2 separate regions of the Homo sapiens genome follow, and region 1 is linked to region 2. Evidence: promoter capture Hi-C in 16 types of primary human blood cells and fetal thymus (Javierre and others, 2016). All regions are on one chromosome and are shown on one strand. The core of a region is centred on a gene start or on the middle of the fragment in contact, and the rest is flanking DNA. Distances in the headings are between cores, read along the strand shown. Region 1 has its middle 13 kb from the start of NGDN. Region 2 holds the start of PCK2 (phosphoenolpyruvate carboxykinase 2, mitochondrial).

The links. Contacts are between HindIII fragments. The CHiCAGO score rates a contact against its expected background, and 5 or more counts as called.
Region 1: a fragment that was not itself captured here is called in contact with the fragment with the promoter of PCK2 in region 2 in 1 of 17 cell types (naive CD8 T cells); the score reaches 5.6 in naive CD8 T cells.

What each region holds. Positions count from the first base shown.
Region 1 is chr14:23,480,505-23,484,713 of GRCh38, reverse strand. No RefSeq gene overlaps it. Among named protein-coding and RNA genes, the nearest start is that of NGDN, 13 kb to the right of the region's middle. RefSeq lists enhancers at 1,129-1,885, 1,886-2,643. The HindIII fragment of the contact is 5,436 bases long and covers 1-4,209 here.
Region 2 is chr14:24,092,924-24,097,123 of GRCh38, reverse strand. PCK2 (phosphoenolpyruvate carboxykinase 2, mitochondrial) reads right to left here and starts at 2,813. Exons shown (of 10, transcript NM_004563.4): 1 at 2,690-2,813; 2 at 1-232. The coding sequence starts at 2,718. All of the region lies in intron 1 of NRL (neural retina leucine zipper), which reads left to right. RefSeq lists enhancers at 2,418-2,487, 2,141-2,790 and a silencer at 2,798-3,047. The HindIII fragment of the contact is 4,962 bases long and covers 311-4,200 here.

The sequences.
Region 1 (4,209 bases), core at 299-2,798, 610 kb after region 2:
GAAGCCAGCCATTCTAGGACTGCCACTTAAGCTAAGGAAGATCTCCTCCCACCAGGGAATCAAGGAAAGAGGTCCATATTGTGGCCTATTCCTAGTATATACAGAAGTCAGACTCAGCACTACCATCCAGGGAGTAACTGGATGCTACTAATTCATAAAGAATAATCCAATAAGAGAAAAATTAGCCATCCTAGAAATTGGATAACTTTACAATAAAAAACACTGCTGAATTAGCTGGTTGTGGGGTACTGGTCTCACAATGAAAGGTCTCCAAAATAAAGTTAAGAAGCGAGATGAGGCAAGAGCTAACAGTCTAAAGAGTTTGGGCATATTCTGGAAAGGCTAAGCAATACAGGGCACTGTGGGCTGAATGGGGCAACCAGGTAAATTCAGCTGTGATAAAGGAACAACATGGAATGACAAAAAAAGGAGGCAGACTACAAGAGTGAGCCAAGGTCCTGCAGCCAGAATTGTGCTCAGCAGTGACCAGAGAGCCAGGATGTCCATCACATAAGTGTCACAACTGTCCTGGAAAGAACCTTCTGAGGACACAAAAGATCAGTAACAGGACATCTCCTCCAGTCTTCAAAACACAGGATAACGAAAGTAGAGGTATCCTTAGCAATCTAATCCAAAAGTTTCTGGATGAGCCATTATTATCTGAATTCTTGCTATTCCCTAGCTCCCATTTTCCCAGCATGTAGAACCCAAATCTGTAGATTCAGATAACACAGGATCGATCGCTTGCCAAGTGAACTCTCCTTATCCAAATCCAGGAACTGAATAGATGCAGACAGCAAAGGATATCTTCTGTCTCCCATCATGTTTCCCCTGTAGAGCCTCGTCATTCTCCCACCTACTCTTCGGTACTGACCCCTCAGTTCTCCTCACCCTGTTCTCTTCTAAGCCACCCTCATCTACAGCCCCCTTTCATTGGGAGAGTCATCTGTAAGATGTCAGGGGTAGAACAGATAACGAAAAAGGGAGTAGGGAAGAGTGTAGATTTCAGGTAGGGAAGTGAGATGGAGATCCTGCAGACAGAGAAAGAGAGAGACAGAAAGCAAGAGAGCCGGAGCTGGGGGAGGGGAAGAAGATGGCACTGCGGAAAAAAGAGCGCCACAAAATTAATTTGAGGAAGGGAACAGTAGAGGAGACGTTGGTGGAATAACAATCAGGCAGTAGAGGGCTGGGGAAAGGGGGAGGGCGACAGGGTGGGGAGGAATGATGTTGGCCGGGAGGGCCCTGCCTGCAGAGCAACAGCAGCACCACCTATGGGTATGGTGAAGGGCTACAGGCTGCAACAAAAGAGGTTCCCGCCTAGGCATGGGAGTCTGGGGTGCAGGTGGGGAGGAAGAAGCCATGGCTTTTGCCATTCAAATCTCTTGGTTACACAACATGCAGGCTAGAAGAATAAATAGTATATGGCTTTCCTGGGAAGAGAGGGACTTAAGGTAAGGGAGGGAAGACAGAGAACTCCTGGCTTTTTCCATTACAAGGGGGTTTCCCCTTCAGAATTCAGGCAGTAGAAAAGAGAAGAATATGAAGAGGGAGGAACACCAGGTACTGAAAGGAATGTGAGCACCTGCTTATTTCATTACCTGGAGAAAGGATTTTTATCTTTATTTCCAAGTGATTTCCTCTCCCCACTGGATATAAGAGAATACAGCTGCCTCCCTGGGGCCATGAATGCCCCTCACTCAGCTGCTTCCTCCCAGCACTGCCTCAAAACTCCCAACCACCATTAGAAACCCCCAGGGAGCCACCAAGGTCTAAGAAGGAAAGAAGGGAAGGGTTCCCCCCACCAAACAGACCAAGTGGGGGAGGACAGGGTGGAATGAAAGAGAGAATGCAAAAGCTCTGCAGAGGGAGGGGAGAGAGAAATGTGATCAGTAGTATTTGTTGTGCTTCCAGGGAGGAAGGATCTGTCACATTTTTAATAATAATAAATACATGAAGACAGATTTGCCAGCACTGCTCTGGCTTCTTGGGAAGTGTGGGGGAGGGGAAGTAATGCAGCTGCAGCACACACCAATATCTCCCCCTCCCCTCCCCCATTAGATAGGCTCAGTATTGCAGCAGCCTCCCCCTCCCCCTCTAACCGCAGTCCTCCCCTTCACAGCCCACCCTTTCCACGGTCCCGTCACACAGTTCTGCCCCTCCTTCCCCTACTTGTATCTCTACTCACTCCAACCCCACTCTGTCCTTTCAGTGCTGGTCCTCATTTAACACATGCTTACTCTAGCTGGAAGAAACCTTAGCACCTACATCTTAGATGAATGAATCTGTTCCCCCAATCCTGAGGCTCTGCTGTTTCCAATCAGTGCCCTTCACTAGCTGACAGCAATCTTCCCCTACACCCCACACAACACTCCCACAGATGTAATCCAGCACATTTCAGCATTTCCTGGATTCCACCAAAAAGGATTGCTTTTCTCCCCGTTTTAATCTCAATGTGACCTCCTTTCTCACATCCTTCCTTAAATATAATGGCCATCAAATGTGTTTGTGTTTAGGGGGTGTCAGGGCCTCAGGACTCAGTGACTACTGCCACCTATTGACCCAAGTTTGTTCACGATAGACCTTTAATACACTTCTTACACAGCGACGCTCTGTCATCTCAAAAGCATCAATAGCTTAAACATGCAAAGGCATGGCTCTGGGGGCTTCTCTGAGACCCTCTGAACAATGAGATCAAAGAAACACAAAAGCAAGACTGGGCAGAGAGCCAGAGCATTGATGCCTTTCCTCATGCAGAGGCAGAAAACGAGGCCCAAGGAATGAAAAAGCAACTTTAAGTCCCCTCAAGGTTCTCTAAGCAAAGATGAGTAGGGAACAGAGTTTTTCTTAAGGGCTGGTAAAAATTTCATGTATCATAATATAAATGATAAATGATGTTACCAATGGAGCAGGAGGCAGGATTCCACTCACATACCTCCATCAAGTTAGCCAAATCCTTGGCATGAATCTGGGATTTATGGACCTAAAAGATTCCAGGGAGGATGGGGGACACTCAGGGGTGTGTTTGACTCTCATCCAATCTGTACCAATCAGAACTGGAGACTGGACAAACTGGGCTCTGAAAAAGGGCAGGTCTACACCACGCAGCTCTATGGTTTAGCTGTGTCCCATTCACCAAACCAAGGAATGAGGAGCGTTTGAACTCTCCATGGTGCTGAAAATTGACACACTAATAATCTCCCCTGCAAACAAAACACAGTTTTCCTAATAAGGTATCTATGAAGACTGTTGTGAATTCCCAATAGACATTTCCCCAAGCCTTCATAAAATCCTAACAAAACAATGATTTTAAGGCAAAGACAGACCTTGGTCAAACTCTCTTCCCTGTCCCCTAAGATGAAAAGAATGAGGCAGAGATGTAAATTACTTCTACAGAATAAAGCTATCACATGACAAAACCATCACATGATAAAACCAAACAGGTAAGGTGCTCATGTGTGCATTAATGACAGCTATTACTTAGTGAACACCAGAAATGATCTGTTGTCAGCAATACACTGAGGAAATCCGATATTCATATGGTCTGAATAATCAGATAACTGAATCTATTAGTAGGAATAAGGGAAAGAAAAAAAGTGACCAGAACAGCCATAACGAAATCCTAAAATTCTAGTTCTTAGTTCCCTTGTTCTACTACCCTAACAGTTGTTTTCAAACTATATTCTAAGGAATTCTAAAGGTTCCTTGGGGGCTCCTCAGGAATCTTGGGGAAAGGGGGTCATAAGAACATGGAACTTCAGGACCCCTCATTCCCACTTCAATCAAAGTAACCCCACTTATGCTTGTTTTACATATTGAGAATCCATGTAATACTCCATCAAACAATACACTCTAAACAGTGTTTGATGACTCTGGTACAAATATTCTCAGAAATAGTTCAACTTTTTACCAGAAACTTCTTTCAAATAATGCCTAAAAGCCAGGGAAAACAAAATGTCCTGGGATTAAAGACTTGATTGAATTAATATAAGGTCCACAAAGGCAGGGATTTTGTCTGCTGTGTTCACTGGTATACCACAAAGAGACCAGAATTGTGGAACTTAGGGTTTCTTTGAAGACGAGGCCTGTAACAGAAATGGGGCAGTAGGGCGGGGGAGCTAGATTATAAACCACCTACAAATAAAAAAAGATTTTTTAACCCTGAAGATTTTCATGAACCACAGGACACTTGAAGTCCTCCATCCTCAGTGT
Region 2 (4,200 bases), core at 1,564-4,063:
GGGGAGCTTTCGGATGAGGCCCTGCTGCTCCAGCAGGGTCAGTGTGGCAGTATTCTCAGCCTCAGTTCCATCACAGATGTGGATGCCCTCTGGTTGGCACAGGCGGGCACTGTGCTCTACAAAATCTCGAATGCCAGTGGGAAGCTGGCCCAGATCTCCACTAAGCACTCGCAGGGTCTGGATGCTACGGCATGATGGCCAGCCCAAGGGGCTCAGCCCATGCCAGTTAAGCCTATAGGAGAAACAGAGGCAATGAGCTAGTTGCTGTCATCGAGAGTGGACAAGGCAGGTGGTGGAGAGACAGAAAGCTTGGGCTGCAGCCTGCTAAAACATGTCTGCATGCAGGGACCATGAAGAGCAGGTTGCAGTTGGTGTGTGGGATGTGTTCAGGACACATGTATCTTGTAGCCTTTATGAGGCTTGAGGAGGGTGTCTCCTGCTCAGCGAGGGACAGATATGGCCAAATGAGCAAAAAAGGCACATGCCTGGCTGTGTGGAAGTATACATGTAGGCATGCTGATGTTACTGCCTGTGTAGCCCATGCCCATGTTTAACTGTTTAATCAACGTTTAGAAATAAGTAGGGAGATGGCTGGGCACGGTGGCTCATGCCTGTAATCCCAGCACTTTGGGAGGCTGAGGCAGGTGGATCATGAGGTCAGGAGATCAAGACCATACTGGGCAACATGGTGAAACCCCATCTACTAAAAATATAAAAATTAGCCGGATGTGGTGGCGTGTGCCTCTAGTCCCAGCTACTCAGGAGGCTGAGGCAGGAGAATCGCTTGAACCCGGGAGGTGGAGGTTGCAGTGAGCCGAGATCGGGACACTGCACTCCAACCTGGGCGACAGAGCAAGACTCTGTCTCAAAAAAAAAAAAAAAAAAAAAAAAAAAAGAAATGAGTAGGGGCCTTTGGCCCAAGTGTCAAGACAAGAAGTTGGGCCCAGGTGACAATTTCATATGTCTGGTATTTGAAGCCTCATCCATTTTATTTCCATTTTCAAGTATAGTTTTTTATAAATTAAAATGGCAGCTGTGTTTATTCTTTCCTTCTGGTGTGTATGCTGTAAGACTATGAAAGCCCCAAGCAAAGGTCACAGTCTTTCCAGTGCCAGGTTTCTAGATGAGGGCTCTTGCACAGAGAATAGGTGACTGGATGCTGGGCTTCCAGGCCCTGATCTGCTGCTGCCCACTTGGACCAACAATGGTTGCATAAAATGTTGCCCTCGGGTAAGTATTTCTGAACTCTGCGGAAGGTTGACCACTGGGGAATGAGTGTCACTGGCTGGGGTTCATGGGCTTAATTCTCAGGAGGTCAGCGTCCTGTTGTCTGTCCTCTCATGGCCCTGGGAGACAGAGAAGCAACGTCTGCTCTGATTGGCCTGGACTCAAGGTGGAGTAAACCCGAGAGAGCAAAGACCATGAAGGGGATGTTACTCTCCTCCTCTATCAAGGCCTCGCCCATCAGAAACTGCCCCCACACCCAGGACCACGTGACCCCGTGCTTCCCCTGGCTCTTCTTCCTAGAGGCCACATGCCTAGAGAGCTTTGGTGTTGGTGGGAGGGTGGAACAGCAGCTTGCTGGCAGCTCAGACTCAGAGGGTGTTAGCCTGGGGAAGGAAGAAAGCTCAGAGCATGGATACGGGAGCTTGAGTCTGTCTGGGGTAGAAGCTGGGGTGGTTTCCGCTAAAGCAGGATAGATGATCAGTGTGGCCCCAGGGGCAGGGGAGGAGGGCTACTGGGACCTGGGTCTGTTCCTGCCTCAGAGGGAAGTTCTCCGTGAGCATCAGTTTTCAAGCACACAGTCTTGAGGACAGCCTCTCTCTCCCTGGAGCCTGGCTCACGTTATCTCTTGTGAAGCCCCCACACCCTCTTGCAGCCCTCTAAGTGGGACGTTTCCTTCAGAGACCACCCACAAGGGCTGCCCAAGTGGAACGGGCTGTGCGACAGATGTGGGTCACTTCCGACTCTGGGACAAAAGCTGAGAAGAGAGGCCTCAGAGAATAAATAGGAGACTAAGAGGACAGGCAGACAAACAGGACGAGCCTGGGGGCTCCAGGCCTGGACGGAGGAAGAAGCCAGCTATGTAAGAAACGAAGGCAACTTGGCGCCCTCCTCCCACCTTGCTTGCCTCCCTCCCCTGGGCCCAGGTCCCTCGGGCTGCTCTGGACTTCCCGCCAGGTTCCAGTCCTTCCAGTCCGGGAGAGGCCGGGAATGGATATTTAACCTTCCACCTTCTTTAGGGGGCTCTGAGCTTAGTCTCCCGGGGCTCACGTACCCTTGTCCCCAGGGCCCTGCTGCCTCTCGAAGTACCCTGGGGCGCTGGCTGAGAGCCCGTTAGAGGTCCGAGGGAGGTATCTGGGAAGGAAAGGAGGATATGCGGAGACCTGGCTCAGCAGAGAGGAGCGAGGAGAGAGAGGAAGTTCTGAGAGTGGCAGATAGAGATCGCGCGGTCAGAGGCGAGCGAGGCAGAGAAGGGGAGGTGCAGGCGGAAACGAGGAGCACCGGCCGGCTGCCCTCCCAAGAGACGCGCGGCGCGGGAGGCTGGACCCACAGCAGTCGCCCCTGCCCGCCTCCGCCTAGGATGGGAAACCTGGCGGAGGCTGAGAGCAGGAGAGCGCCACTGGCAGCCCCGAGGGGGCGAGCGCAGCGGAAGGTGCGGGTGGGCCCCGGGCCGGGGGTCACTCACCGCAGGCCAGGGCGGTACAATGCGGCCATGGCACCTGGGCAGGGGCTGCGGGGTGGCCAGGAACCGAGCGGAGCCGGGGAGGTATGGAAGGCGGGGAAGGAGGGAGCGCGGCGAAGCGAGCCACAGCAGAGGCTGGCGGGAGGCGCTTAAAAAGGAGGGGGGCAGGCGCGGGGGCGGAACCTGGTAGGGCTGGCACTAGCTTTCCTCCGCCCCGCTGGCAGGCCAGCTCCCTCGGCCCCGGGGCTCCAGGCTCCAGGTCAGCCCAGCCGCCGCCCCAACCCCTGCCTCCAAACCGCCAAACCCATCTCTCCCATTGGAGGACTGGGTCCACTCTTCGGCCCCCGACTTCGAGGCCCCGCCCCCCATCCGCCACCGCCCTCCCAGCCGCACATGATGTAACTTTGAGGACTCTTGCTCCCGGGAGAGACACTAGGTGGCAAACAAGCTAGGAACGAGGGGCGAGGCCAGGGGCGGGAGACTACAGGGGCCAGACGTCTAGAAGTTAGGGGGTTGGGCATTGCCTTTCCAGTTCCTCCTCCTGGGGACGCGACACCCTGAGTCCTGGGCCTTTCTGTAGTCCAAGTGCCCAATGCTAAGGTCCACTTAGTCCCCAACTCCTAAATCCCCGTTTCTCCTCCTGATCAAGGCTCCTTTCTGCCTTGCCATGAAATGGTGGAGTCTCTCTACCCCTGGGTCTCTTCCTTGGTCCTCTGATCTGGTCATTCTCCTCCCCCGGCACATCCCCTCTTCCCCTGACGGAGTCTTACTCTGTCACCCAGGCTGGAGTGCGTGCAGTGGCGCGATCTCGGCTCACTGCACACTCCGCCTCCCGGGTTCAAGCAATTCTCCTGTCTCAACCTGCAGAGTAGCTGGAATTACAGGCGCCTGCCACCACACTCGGCTGATTTTTTGTATTTTTTGTAAAGACGGGGTTTCTCCATGCTGGCCAAGCTGGTCTCCAACTCCTGACCTCGTGATCCGCCTGCCTTGGCCTCCCAAAGTGCTGGAATTTACAGGCGTGAGCCACCACGCCCGGCCTGGTCATTCTTTCTCTCCACAATCCAATGAGGAAACTCATCTGCCCACCCAACTACCATCATAAAGTCCTCAGGTGATTTCTCAAGCTATACCTCCATTGGGACATCTCTCTCCAACCTGAGACCACTGGATATCACCCACAATGCTATATAGCACCTCAAACTCAGCATATCTATGATGGGTGTCTGCTCAGCATCCACTCGCCTTTTCTGGTAATAGCACCCTGATTTTCTTTTGGGGAACCATCTCCTCAGTCTGTATTGTCATGTGGGTCTGATGTCACCCCTCTTGGGGGTAGGCTTGCAGCTTAGCCAACTTTTGTGTTCCTCACTCTGGCCACAGCAATCAAGGATGTTCAAGGATGGGCATGAGATCCCTCTCTGGGACTTTTTCTAAAACTTTGGAAGTTAGCTCTCTTTCTGCTGAGTTGCTGAGCTGGTAGAATATAAGCCTGGAGCTGCTGAGTGTTAGCT